Linked DNA regions of Homo sapiens: region 1 is linked to region 2. Evidence: promoter capture Hi-C in human tissues and cell types (Jung and others, 2019). All regions are on one chromosome and are shown on one strand. Each heading gives the region's core, a stretch centred on a gene start or on the middle of the fragment in contact. The rest is flanking DNA. Distances are from core to core; before and after follow the strand shown. Region 1 overlaps TRIM2 (tripartite motif containing 2). Region 2 holds the start of FHDC1 (FH2 domain containing 1).

The links. The method cuts DNA at HindIII sites, captures the fragments that hold promoters and counts their contacts. A contact is called where the count stands out against the background at its distance.
Region 1: a contact is called between a fragment that was not itself captured here and the fragment with the promoter of FHDC1 in region 2, in 1 of the 25 tissues and cell types used here (lymphoblastoid cells).

The regions. Positions count from the first base shown.
Region 1 is chr4:153,306,486-153,310,984 of GRCh38, reverse strand. All of the region lies in intron 6 of TRIM2 (tripartite motif containing 2), which reads right to left. It also overlaps the pseudogene ANXA2P1. Among named protein-coding and RNA genes, the nearest start is that of MND1, 36 kb to the left of the region's middle. The HindIII fragment of the contact is 6,924 bases long and covers 1-4,499 here.
Region 2 is chr4:152,933,144-152,937,863 of GRCh38, reverse strand. FHDC1 (FH2 domain containing 1) reads right to left here and starts at 1,541. Exons shown (of 12, transcript NM_001371116.1): 1 at 1,455-1,541. LOC729870 (a long non-coding RNA gene) reads left to right here and starts at 1,027. Exons shown (of 2, transcript NR_136614.1): 1 at 1,027-1,215; 2 at 2,414-3,348. RefSeq lists silencers at 1-163, 1,496-1,585. The HindIII fragment of the contact is 7,704 bases long and covers 1-4,720 here.

The sequences.
Region 1 (4,499 bases), core at 155-2,654, 370 kb before region 2:
CTGGAAAGAGGTTCCATGACCTCTGCTGAACTCAAGGGCAATGTGTTGGCCCAGCTCTTATTCTTGGTTTGAATTTAAGGAGAGCTCAAGTCTGTTGCCCACATGTAAATTAAATCACAAGGTCAGAGGAATGTCTGTTTGTCTAACATTGCTTATATATTTTTGAAAGAAGCTAAACGAAACAGGCACTACCATTTTTATTTTGCAATATTTGTTTTTAAAAAATCTTTTCTTTAAGCTCTATGGCTTGGTTTCTGAATGGCTGGTTGGGATTCCTGGTAACATCTCCTGATTCTTACGGTCCTCTTTTGTCGTATTGGAGATTATTGATTATTATTATTTTTTAAACTCTACCTGAAAGCACAGCAGAATCAGTGTGTTACTCCTGAAGATTAAAAGGACACCACTAGCATATACTTGGGAAGACAATTGATGCCAACTATTTTCACCAACAGTTAAACTAGAAATATCTTGATGGTGATGCAGCACTACAGTAGATTGTCATTATGCTGCAATGTTCAAGTGTTTGTAAAGTGTCTTAAGGCAATTCCAGAAGTTAGAAATAATTTGGGATCATGCCTTACTCTTCAAGCTTTTCAGTAAATTCTGTTTCATTTGTAGAAAGTCTCTTCTCTCTCTCTAAAGTATTCTAAATATATAATAAAAACTAGTTCTTTCATAACAAATATAAATAACACAAAACACATATAATACTTATAAAATATTTTTCTATCTACTTTAATGTAAAAGATTTCATTTGATGGTTACATATTAGCTAGTAGAATGAATAACAAGAATTTTTAAAGTAATTATAATCAATTTAACAATTATTCTATAATTCCATAATTAAATCATTTTGTTTTTCCAGATGCAAGTCTAGCCTATGAAGCACAAAATGAATTTTTAATTCAACAGCTTCTCACCCATATTCTTCCTGGTCACTTCCACCTACCCCTCCAGGAAGATTACATAAGGTGAACCCTTAGACTGAAATAGGGGATCAATAAATGCAGATTTCCTCTCACCACCCACTCCAACTTAATATGAAATTAATGCTGGCCGGGCACAATGGCTTACACCTGTAATCCCAGCACTTTGGGAGGCCAAGGTGGGTGGATCACTTGAGGTCAGGAATTTAAGACCAGCCTGGCCAACATAATGAAACCCCATCCCTACTACTAAAAATACAAAAAATTAGCTGAGCATGGTGGCGCATGCCTGTAATCCCAGCTACTCAGGAGGCCGAGGCAGGAGAATTGTTTGAACCCAGGAGGCAGTGGTTGCAGTGGGCTGAGATCATGCCACTGTACTTCAGCCTGCAAGACTCCATCTCAAAAAAAAAAAAAAAAAAGAAGTTAATGCTAAATAAATCTAGATGTTTTGAATGGAATCATGCAACAAGATGAAACTGAGCCAAGTGTAAGATCTAACACAGGATCTTCAATCAAGTAGGTGCTTAACAAATGTTTGCTGGATGAAAAAGTGCATGAATAAGTTATTAATGAGTGAGTAAATTACAACCCCCATTGTATCACTGGAAAACAAAATGTTCAATTATATTTATAGCACTTTCATGTACATTTTCTCACATACCATCCCATGAGATAGCAGGACAAACATTATCATCCCCATTTTATAGATGAGAAAGTTGAAGCTAGACACATTACCGAGATCATCAGAGACAGGGGGAAGAATAAAACCTGGTTCTCCTGATCCTTTACATAACACTTTTTTCCCCAATACACACATGGCTTCTTCTGGGTTTTGGTGGTGAAGATAATTACATTTTGGGCTCACATGAATCATGTTTTCTCTTTAAAATCCTTTAGAAAACCCCATCCTTTAACACATGATACTTTATTTAACTGTCTGTATCCTTCACTACACTGTAAGTTGCTTGAGGGCAGGAGCAACATCTGTCCTGTACACCATTGCACCCTATAACACAGCATAGTGCCTAGCACTTAGTCAATATTAGTTGCATCTTTTTCCACTTGAAATGCAAGAAGAGTTCCCAAGGATGAGATTCTCAAGGATGGGGTGAAGGTCCTATAATGACCTAAGATGCCAACTTAGCACGACCTCCCTCCTCATATATTTTAGGGAGGAAAGGTGGTAGTTTGCAGAGGTGGGGCAGGGGAGAGGGGCATAAAATAATATATTTTCAGCTCAGCATCTGGGGACGCTCTCAGGTCTTGGTGCCCAGCCCAGCTTCCTTCAAAATATCTGCTGTTCATGAAATCCTGTGCAAGCTCAGCTTGGAGGGTGAACACTCTACACTCCCAAGTGCATTTGGGTCAGTCAAAGCCTACACCAAATTTGATGCTGAGCAGGATGCTTTGAACATTGAAATGGCCATCAAGACCAAAGGTGTGGATGAGATCACCACTGTCAACATTTTGACTAACCACAGCAATGCACAGAGACAGGATATTGCCTTCACCTACCAGAGAAGGACCAAAAAGGAACTTGTATCAGCACTTAAGTCAGCCTTATCTGGCCACCTAGATAGTGGCTTTGGGCCTATTAAAGACACCTGCTCAGTATGATGCTTCTGAGCTAAAATCTTCCATGAAGGGGCTGGGAACCAACAAGGACTCCCTCATTGAGATCATCTGCTCAAGAACCAACCAAGAGCTGCAGGAAATTAACAGAGTCTACAAGGAAATGTACAAGACTGATCTGGAGAAGGACATTATTTCGGACACATCTGGTGACTTCTGCAAGCTGATGGTTGCCCTGGCAAAGGGTAGAAGAGCAGAGGATGGCTCTGTCATTGATTATGAACTGATTGACCAAGATGCCCGGGATCTCTATGACGCTGGGGTGAAGAGGAAAGGAACTGAAGTTCCCAAGTGGATCAGCGTCATGACCGAGCGGAGCATGTCCCACTTCCAGAAAGTATTTGATAGGTACAAGAGCTACAGTCCTTATGACATGTTGGAGAGCATCAAGAAAGAGGTTAAAGGAGACCTGGAAAATTCTTTCCTGAACCTGGTCCAGTGTATTCAGAACAAGCCCCTGTATTTCGCTGACCGGCTGTACGACTCCATAATGGGCATGGGGACTCAAGATAAGGTCCTGATCAGAATCATGGTCTCCCACAATGAAGTGGACATGTTGAAAATTAGGTCTGAATTCAAGAGAAAGTATAGCAAGTCCCTGTACTATTACATCCAGCAAGACACTAAGGGTGCTGTACCTGTGTGGTGGAGATGGCTGAAGTCCGACACAGCACGAGCGTCCAGAAATGGTGCTCCCCATGCTTCCAGCTAACAGGTCTAGAAAACCCGCTTGTGACTAGCAGTCCCTGTGGCTGTTCCTGTGAGGATGACGTTAGCATTGCCCCCAACCTCATTTTAGTTGCCTAAGCATTGCCTGGCTTTCCTGTCTAGTCTCTCCTGTAAGCCAAAGAAATGAACATTCCAAGGAATTGGAAGTGAAGTCTATGATGTGAAACACTTTGCCTCCTGTGTACTGTGTCATAAACGGATTAATAAACTGAATTTGTACTTTAGAAACAAGTAAAAAAATATATATTTTTTTCCTGTAAAGTCTCTGAATTCATGCTAAGCGATTTTACACATCCATTTTAAATTACACTGTTCTAGAGTAAAATGAGTGTTTCATTCAACTTTTCATCTACTCATTAAGGTATGGTGTATAATGAATTAAATAATTTGAGACTATTCACCTGTAATTCTTTCATTCCCTCCCACATCATCTGACTTACCCTTTGTTCAATGACTCTTTTTAGTATAATAGCTAATAAAACCAGCTCATGGTTTCTAGTCAGCAAACTCTTTAACAGTCAAGGAAATATAATCCCTGTGTTTTAAATCATCATCAACAGATGCTCTAAGCTATTTCTCTAAACTCATTCAGGATTGTTTTCTAATACAATATTAGAGTAATGTAATAACTCACTCACAGTGGGCATACACTTAAGTTTTCAAGTATTAGAAGCATCAAATATATCAACTTTGGAAAACCAAATAGTTAAAGGGCATTTTCAATGAAGAGGAATCATTGTGCAATTTAAAAGGCAGGGGCTTCACTTCTCTAAGCTTCCATTTCTTCAACAGTAAGGATAATTATATGTTGCCCTAGTAATATGGCTCTTGGCAGGGCAAGGACTGGGAGCCTGGGAGGCCAGGGGAGCTCTGATATGTAGCATTTCCCATTTCTGCAGTGTAAATGCTTTCATCCAGGCCAATTGCAAGCTACCAATATGAAGTCACTGAATAAGCCAGTATGGCCTGGCTCCAGCATAACAAATATGATGCTGTAGGGTTATTGGGAATGGAAAGTATATTATATCTACTAAGAATTGTAAGTAGCAATTCTTGCCTGGCTCAGAGAATGCCTGTTCGTTTCTCCTGCTTCCATTCCCCATCTATTCCTTCTTGAACTACAACGCCTATCTTTGACATTTCACTGAAGCTCATGATTTAAAGTAACTTCTCTATACTTTTTGCTTCCAAATTGATGTCTCTAGC
Region 2 (4,720 bases), core at 292-2,791:
CCACCGGCTGGGCCGCGAATCCCCGGGGAGCCGCGCTGGGGTCAGCAAACTGAACGCGAGTGGGCGGCCCACGGGCCGCGCGGAGCCCCAGCTGCGTCCTTATCAGCGCCGGGCAGAAGGGCGTCGCGGCGCGAGGGTGGGGCGCCGGTGCGCGCTGAGATCGACGCCCACACGCGCCGCGCCAGCTCTGCGGCGGGGAGAGAAGCCGCGGCCTGCGGGGCGGGGACTGCGGGGCGGGCGCCCAGCGCGGGCGTTGCACGACCCTCGGCCTTCCGCAGCGCCGACCGCTCTCCCGTCCGGCGGCTGCAGCTGCTGGGTCGGCCGCCGCACCCGCTCGCCCATTCCCGGCCCCTCCAGTTGGAGGGGGTCTCGGCCCCGCCCCCCTCCCCGAGGGGCCCACGCTGGAAAGCCCACGCTCCCCACGCCACGCCCCCCAGGGCGCCAGCCCCTCTGCGGGGGTTTAGCACGCTGCGCCCAGAAGTTGGGTGGGAGACGGCTAACTAGGGGAGGTGTCCGTGTGAATGAAACGAAAGGGGGGGTCTTCCGGCTCGCAGACACCGGGTCTGCGGCGGCCGCGCGCTCCCAACCCACCCGGAGCCTCCGCCGCGACATCTTCCCACGTCCCCCATCCAGGTCGCAGGCGCGGGGGAAAAGCCTCACGGCCGCACTGCGGCTCTGCCAAAAGGGAGCCGGGTCGAGCCGCTGAGAAAAACAGAGGGGAGACTCCTGGCGTTTGAAACCGGTCAGAACCCGCTCTCCAAGAGCTGGGGACACCCCTTGTTTGGAGGCTGATCCCCAGCCCACCCGCTTCCTCCCCCTCCCCACACTCCTGCAGGCGCGGGGCGCAACTTGCAATCCGAACTTCGCGCGGCCGGAGCAAGTTTGTCGGGGCGAGAAGCGCCTGGTCCTCGGTCCGCACCACCGCACTAGGTCCCCGCCACCGCCCCACCACTGTGTCAGGGGCCAGGCGTGGCCCCCGGCTGGCTAGGGAACCGAGCGCGGCGCCGCGGCTGCGCATTCCGTGCGGGACGCCGCTGTCTCCCAAGGGTCGGGATAAACTAGGGGGCGGTTGATCTGAAAGTCTTAGCCACGACTAATAGTCAACCGCCCAGGTGCGACCCGCAGCAGCCTTGGCGATGCAGCTCGTTCTCCAGACGCGGGTCCACACCGGCGCGTCCTCGCCTCCAGGGACCGATCGCTGTTCTCCGTGGCCGGGTAAGGGCGGCCGCCAAAGTCACCGGGGTGGATGTGGAGGGAACTGGAACCTCCTCTCCAGCTTTCCCGGTGAGGCTCGGAGGAAGCCGAGACCCGGCACCCATCAGCCGCGCTTCTCGGCGCCTCAGCCTCGGGTCCCGGACAACACCCCAACCCTGACCCTCCCGAGCGGCGGGGCTCCAGCTCCCCGTGTCCCGCGCCGCGGTCGCCCCCGCCTCGGCCGCCCGACCCGCACTCACCCGCGGCCAGCGCGCCCCCGCTCCCGGCGCGCAGACCGCTGCAGCCTCCCGCCGTTGTGTCGGCGTAGCCGCCTCCTCCCGGTCACTGCAGGCCCAGCCAACCCTGAGCGCGAGGGGGCAGGGCGGGGCGGGGCGCAGCGGCAGCCTCAGGTAACAAAGCTGCGGCCTCGCTGCTCCTGGCCGGCCGGGAAGGGCAGCGCGCCCTTTCCTGCTCCGCCCCTCCCTCGCCTCCCCTTCCACCCTACGCGCGCCACCGTCACCGCCACGCGCTCACCTTCACCTGCGCGGGGCCCCGGGGGAGACGCCTCGGGGCACACTGCTTCCCGCACCCGAAGGCTGGTGCGGGGCTAGGCCGGGGGCCACCGAGAGAAGTAGGGGCGGCAGGAGACGGAGATAGCTGGGCTGCCCAGAAGAGCCAGGTGTCCTCGGGGAACGGGCGAGAGGAGGCGCCAAGCTGGCTTCTGAACCTGCAAGTGCCTTTCACAAAGGAGCCTTTGCGACAGCCTCCCAGGCACCCTCTCTTGTGCACACGGGCGCGCACACACTCTTATATACACGCGCGCACACACACACACACACCCGCACACGCCCCCCGACGCACGCGCCAGACCACCCTCTGCCCCAACACTTGCTTCTCCCTGGAGAGCTAGCAGCACTTGGGCGAACTGACCTGTCCCAACCCCTACAGCTGAAACCTGGCTGCGCTAGAGCTTCGCAAAGGTCAGCTCCTCCCTGGGGCCTGCCAAGCTGTAAATTTGTTACCGTTTTTTATTTTGTTTTTGTTTTTAATTCTCAATGATGATGGTAACAGAAACCTTTAGGTTGTATTAAAGCGTAAAAAGACCCCTCAAAAATTTTGCCAGGCCTCATCGAATGAACGCACGCTGTCTGGGAAAGGCACACTCCTCACAGAAAGAAACAGGGGAATCGATTTAATCACATTTTTTTTTTCTTCAAAGTGACTTGGGGCGCCAGTGAGAAGCAAGTAGTCAAAGAAAACATCCCGGGCAAACCGGCTGACCGAAAATCCACTGTCGGGGTAGGGAGGCGCCCTCTACGGGGATGAAGTCATCGCTACCTTTGACTCTTTGATCCTAGATAACCGACCAAGACGTTTCCAGCCTAATGCCTGACGCCTTTTGCTTCCTCCATCCTGGTCCTCAGTCCCTGAACTCCCAGGACAGAATTCCTGACCTCCTTGGTCAAGCCTTGGATCGAGAAAGAGAAACTATTAGTGTAAACAAACCAATCAACCCCAAAACCAAAACTGTGCCTGCCAATAGCCCATTTCTTGGCCATTGATGGTGCATGAAGAGAAATGGATCCAATTAAGAAAATCTTAAAATCTTAAGGAATAAGAAAATGTAATAAAGAGAAAGACAATGTCATGCTCAGGGAGCTAATATGAATCCCAAAGGAATATTGACTGTTCAGGCTCAAGTTAAATTACAGCAGATCGAAAGTGAGGAGTTGAGTGGCATCTTCTTTTCTCTTACTGTCGACCTTGTTAAATGGGGAGTCCACACCCCTTGCCTACTCCTCCCTCCTCAACCCCGTGACAGTGGGCCTCCCCCCAACTGTATTGAGCATGCACTCTAAAACAGTTACTTTTTGAGAAGTCAAGTCTGGTGACCCATTCTCAGCCCCTCATCCCTTTGATCTCCTTGGCAGCATCCTACCCTAAGGCCTTCTCTATGCTTCTCTGGACTTCTCTGCTGACCCTTCTCTTCCTTTGAGGACAGTAACAAGGTTTTTCCAACTCTCGATCTCCCAGTATCCCAAAGAAATACCTTCTGATTTCAAACTGAACCCATCCAGATGTCGTGGGACCTGAAGCTTGTATAACTCCTGGGGGAACTTCTTAAAGGAAAGCAATAAAAACTTACAAACATAATACTAGACATGTATCCTTGGAAGGGCCCAGGGAAAATGAGGGGCTTGGAAATTTGAGCTTCAAGGTATATCTCCGGGTTTCTCTTCAATGTCAGGGACTCTTGAATCCATATTATCGTTGTAAAATTTCAAGTCCAAATAAAAATATCCAAAAATCAACTCATCTTTCCCTCAAAACTAGTACTCTTCCCACACCCACCACCTCCCCCTCTTTACCTAAGACCTGGTTTTTCTGTTTGAAATCCTAGCTTTTCCTTTGCTTGTCTCTCTTAAATTCTTTAAAATTCAAGTATTTGCTAAATTTGCTGCTCTTTCCCAAGTAACCTGTTTTATTTTTCACATGCACCATCACTGCAGTAACCCCAAGTAGTGGAAGAGGGAACAAGTATTTATCTGCTGTTGGCCACATATCAGGCACCACACTTAATTCTCACCATGATCCTATAAGCATTCTGATTTCCTAGCTTAGAGAAGTTAAATTGGATACCTACATCCACTACCTTGGTGTTCTTTCTGCTTCTCTCTTCTTCCTAAATCCATCCCAAAACTGCTGTCAGGTCACTGTTTTTAAAAGTCTGATTTCATCACACTACCTACCTCTTCAAAACCTTCTGCAGATTCCCATGTGCTCCTACAGGAAGAAGGCAGCATTCTTCAGTCTGACAATCCGGCAGCATCCTACGTTTATCTCCCACAATTGGATGCGTCCCATTTCACTCAAGCAGTGGGACGTACTGCCCCTGAATATGTCATGCTTATTTTGACTTTTTTTTTTTTTTTTTTTTTTGAGACGGGGTCTCACTGTCGCCAGGCTGGAATGCAGTGGAGCGATCTCAGCTCACTGCAACCTCTGCCTCCCAGGTTCAAGCGATTCTCCTGCCTCAGCCTCCCAAGTAGCTGGGATTACAAGCATGCACCACCACACCTGGCTAATTTTTGTATTTTTAGTAGAGATAGGGTTTCACCATGTTGGCCAGAATGGTCTCAATCTCCTGACCTTGTGATCCACCCGCCTCAGCCTCCCAGAGTGCTGGGATTACATATGTAAGCCACCACGCCTGGCCTACTTTGACTCTTATTTTTCAAATTGTACATAGGATGTGGTCAAAAAGTGCTTGAATGAAGCATGGCGCAACTCTTCAATAGAGTTCATATCTTGATGGATTGGATCTAAAGCTGCAAAATCTAGAAGACAATTTATTCTTCATCTATTAATATGCTGATTGTCCATCTGTATCCCCCAAATGTGCCAACCAGCCTTTAAATAAGGCTGGAAAGGCTCCTGAAGCCCAGTGTGCCCAAAGTCTGCCCAGCTACTGGCATTCGTGGCTTGGAGGTGGCGCTGCTGCCACTGCAGGCCTCTTGAGCAGTGG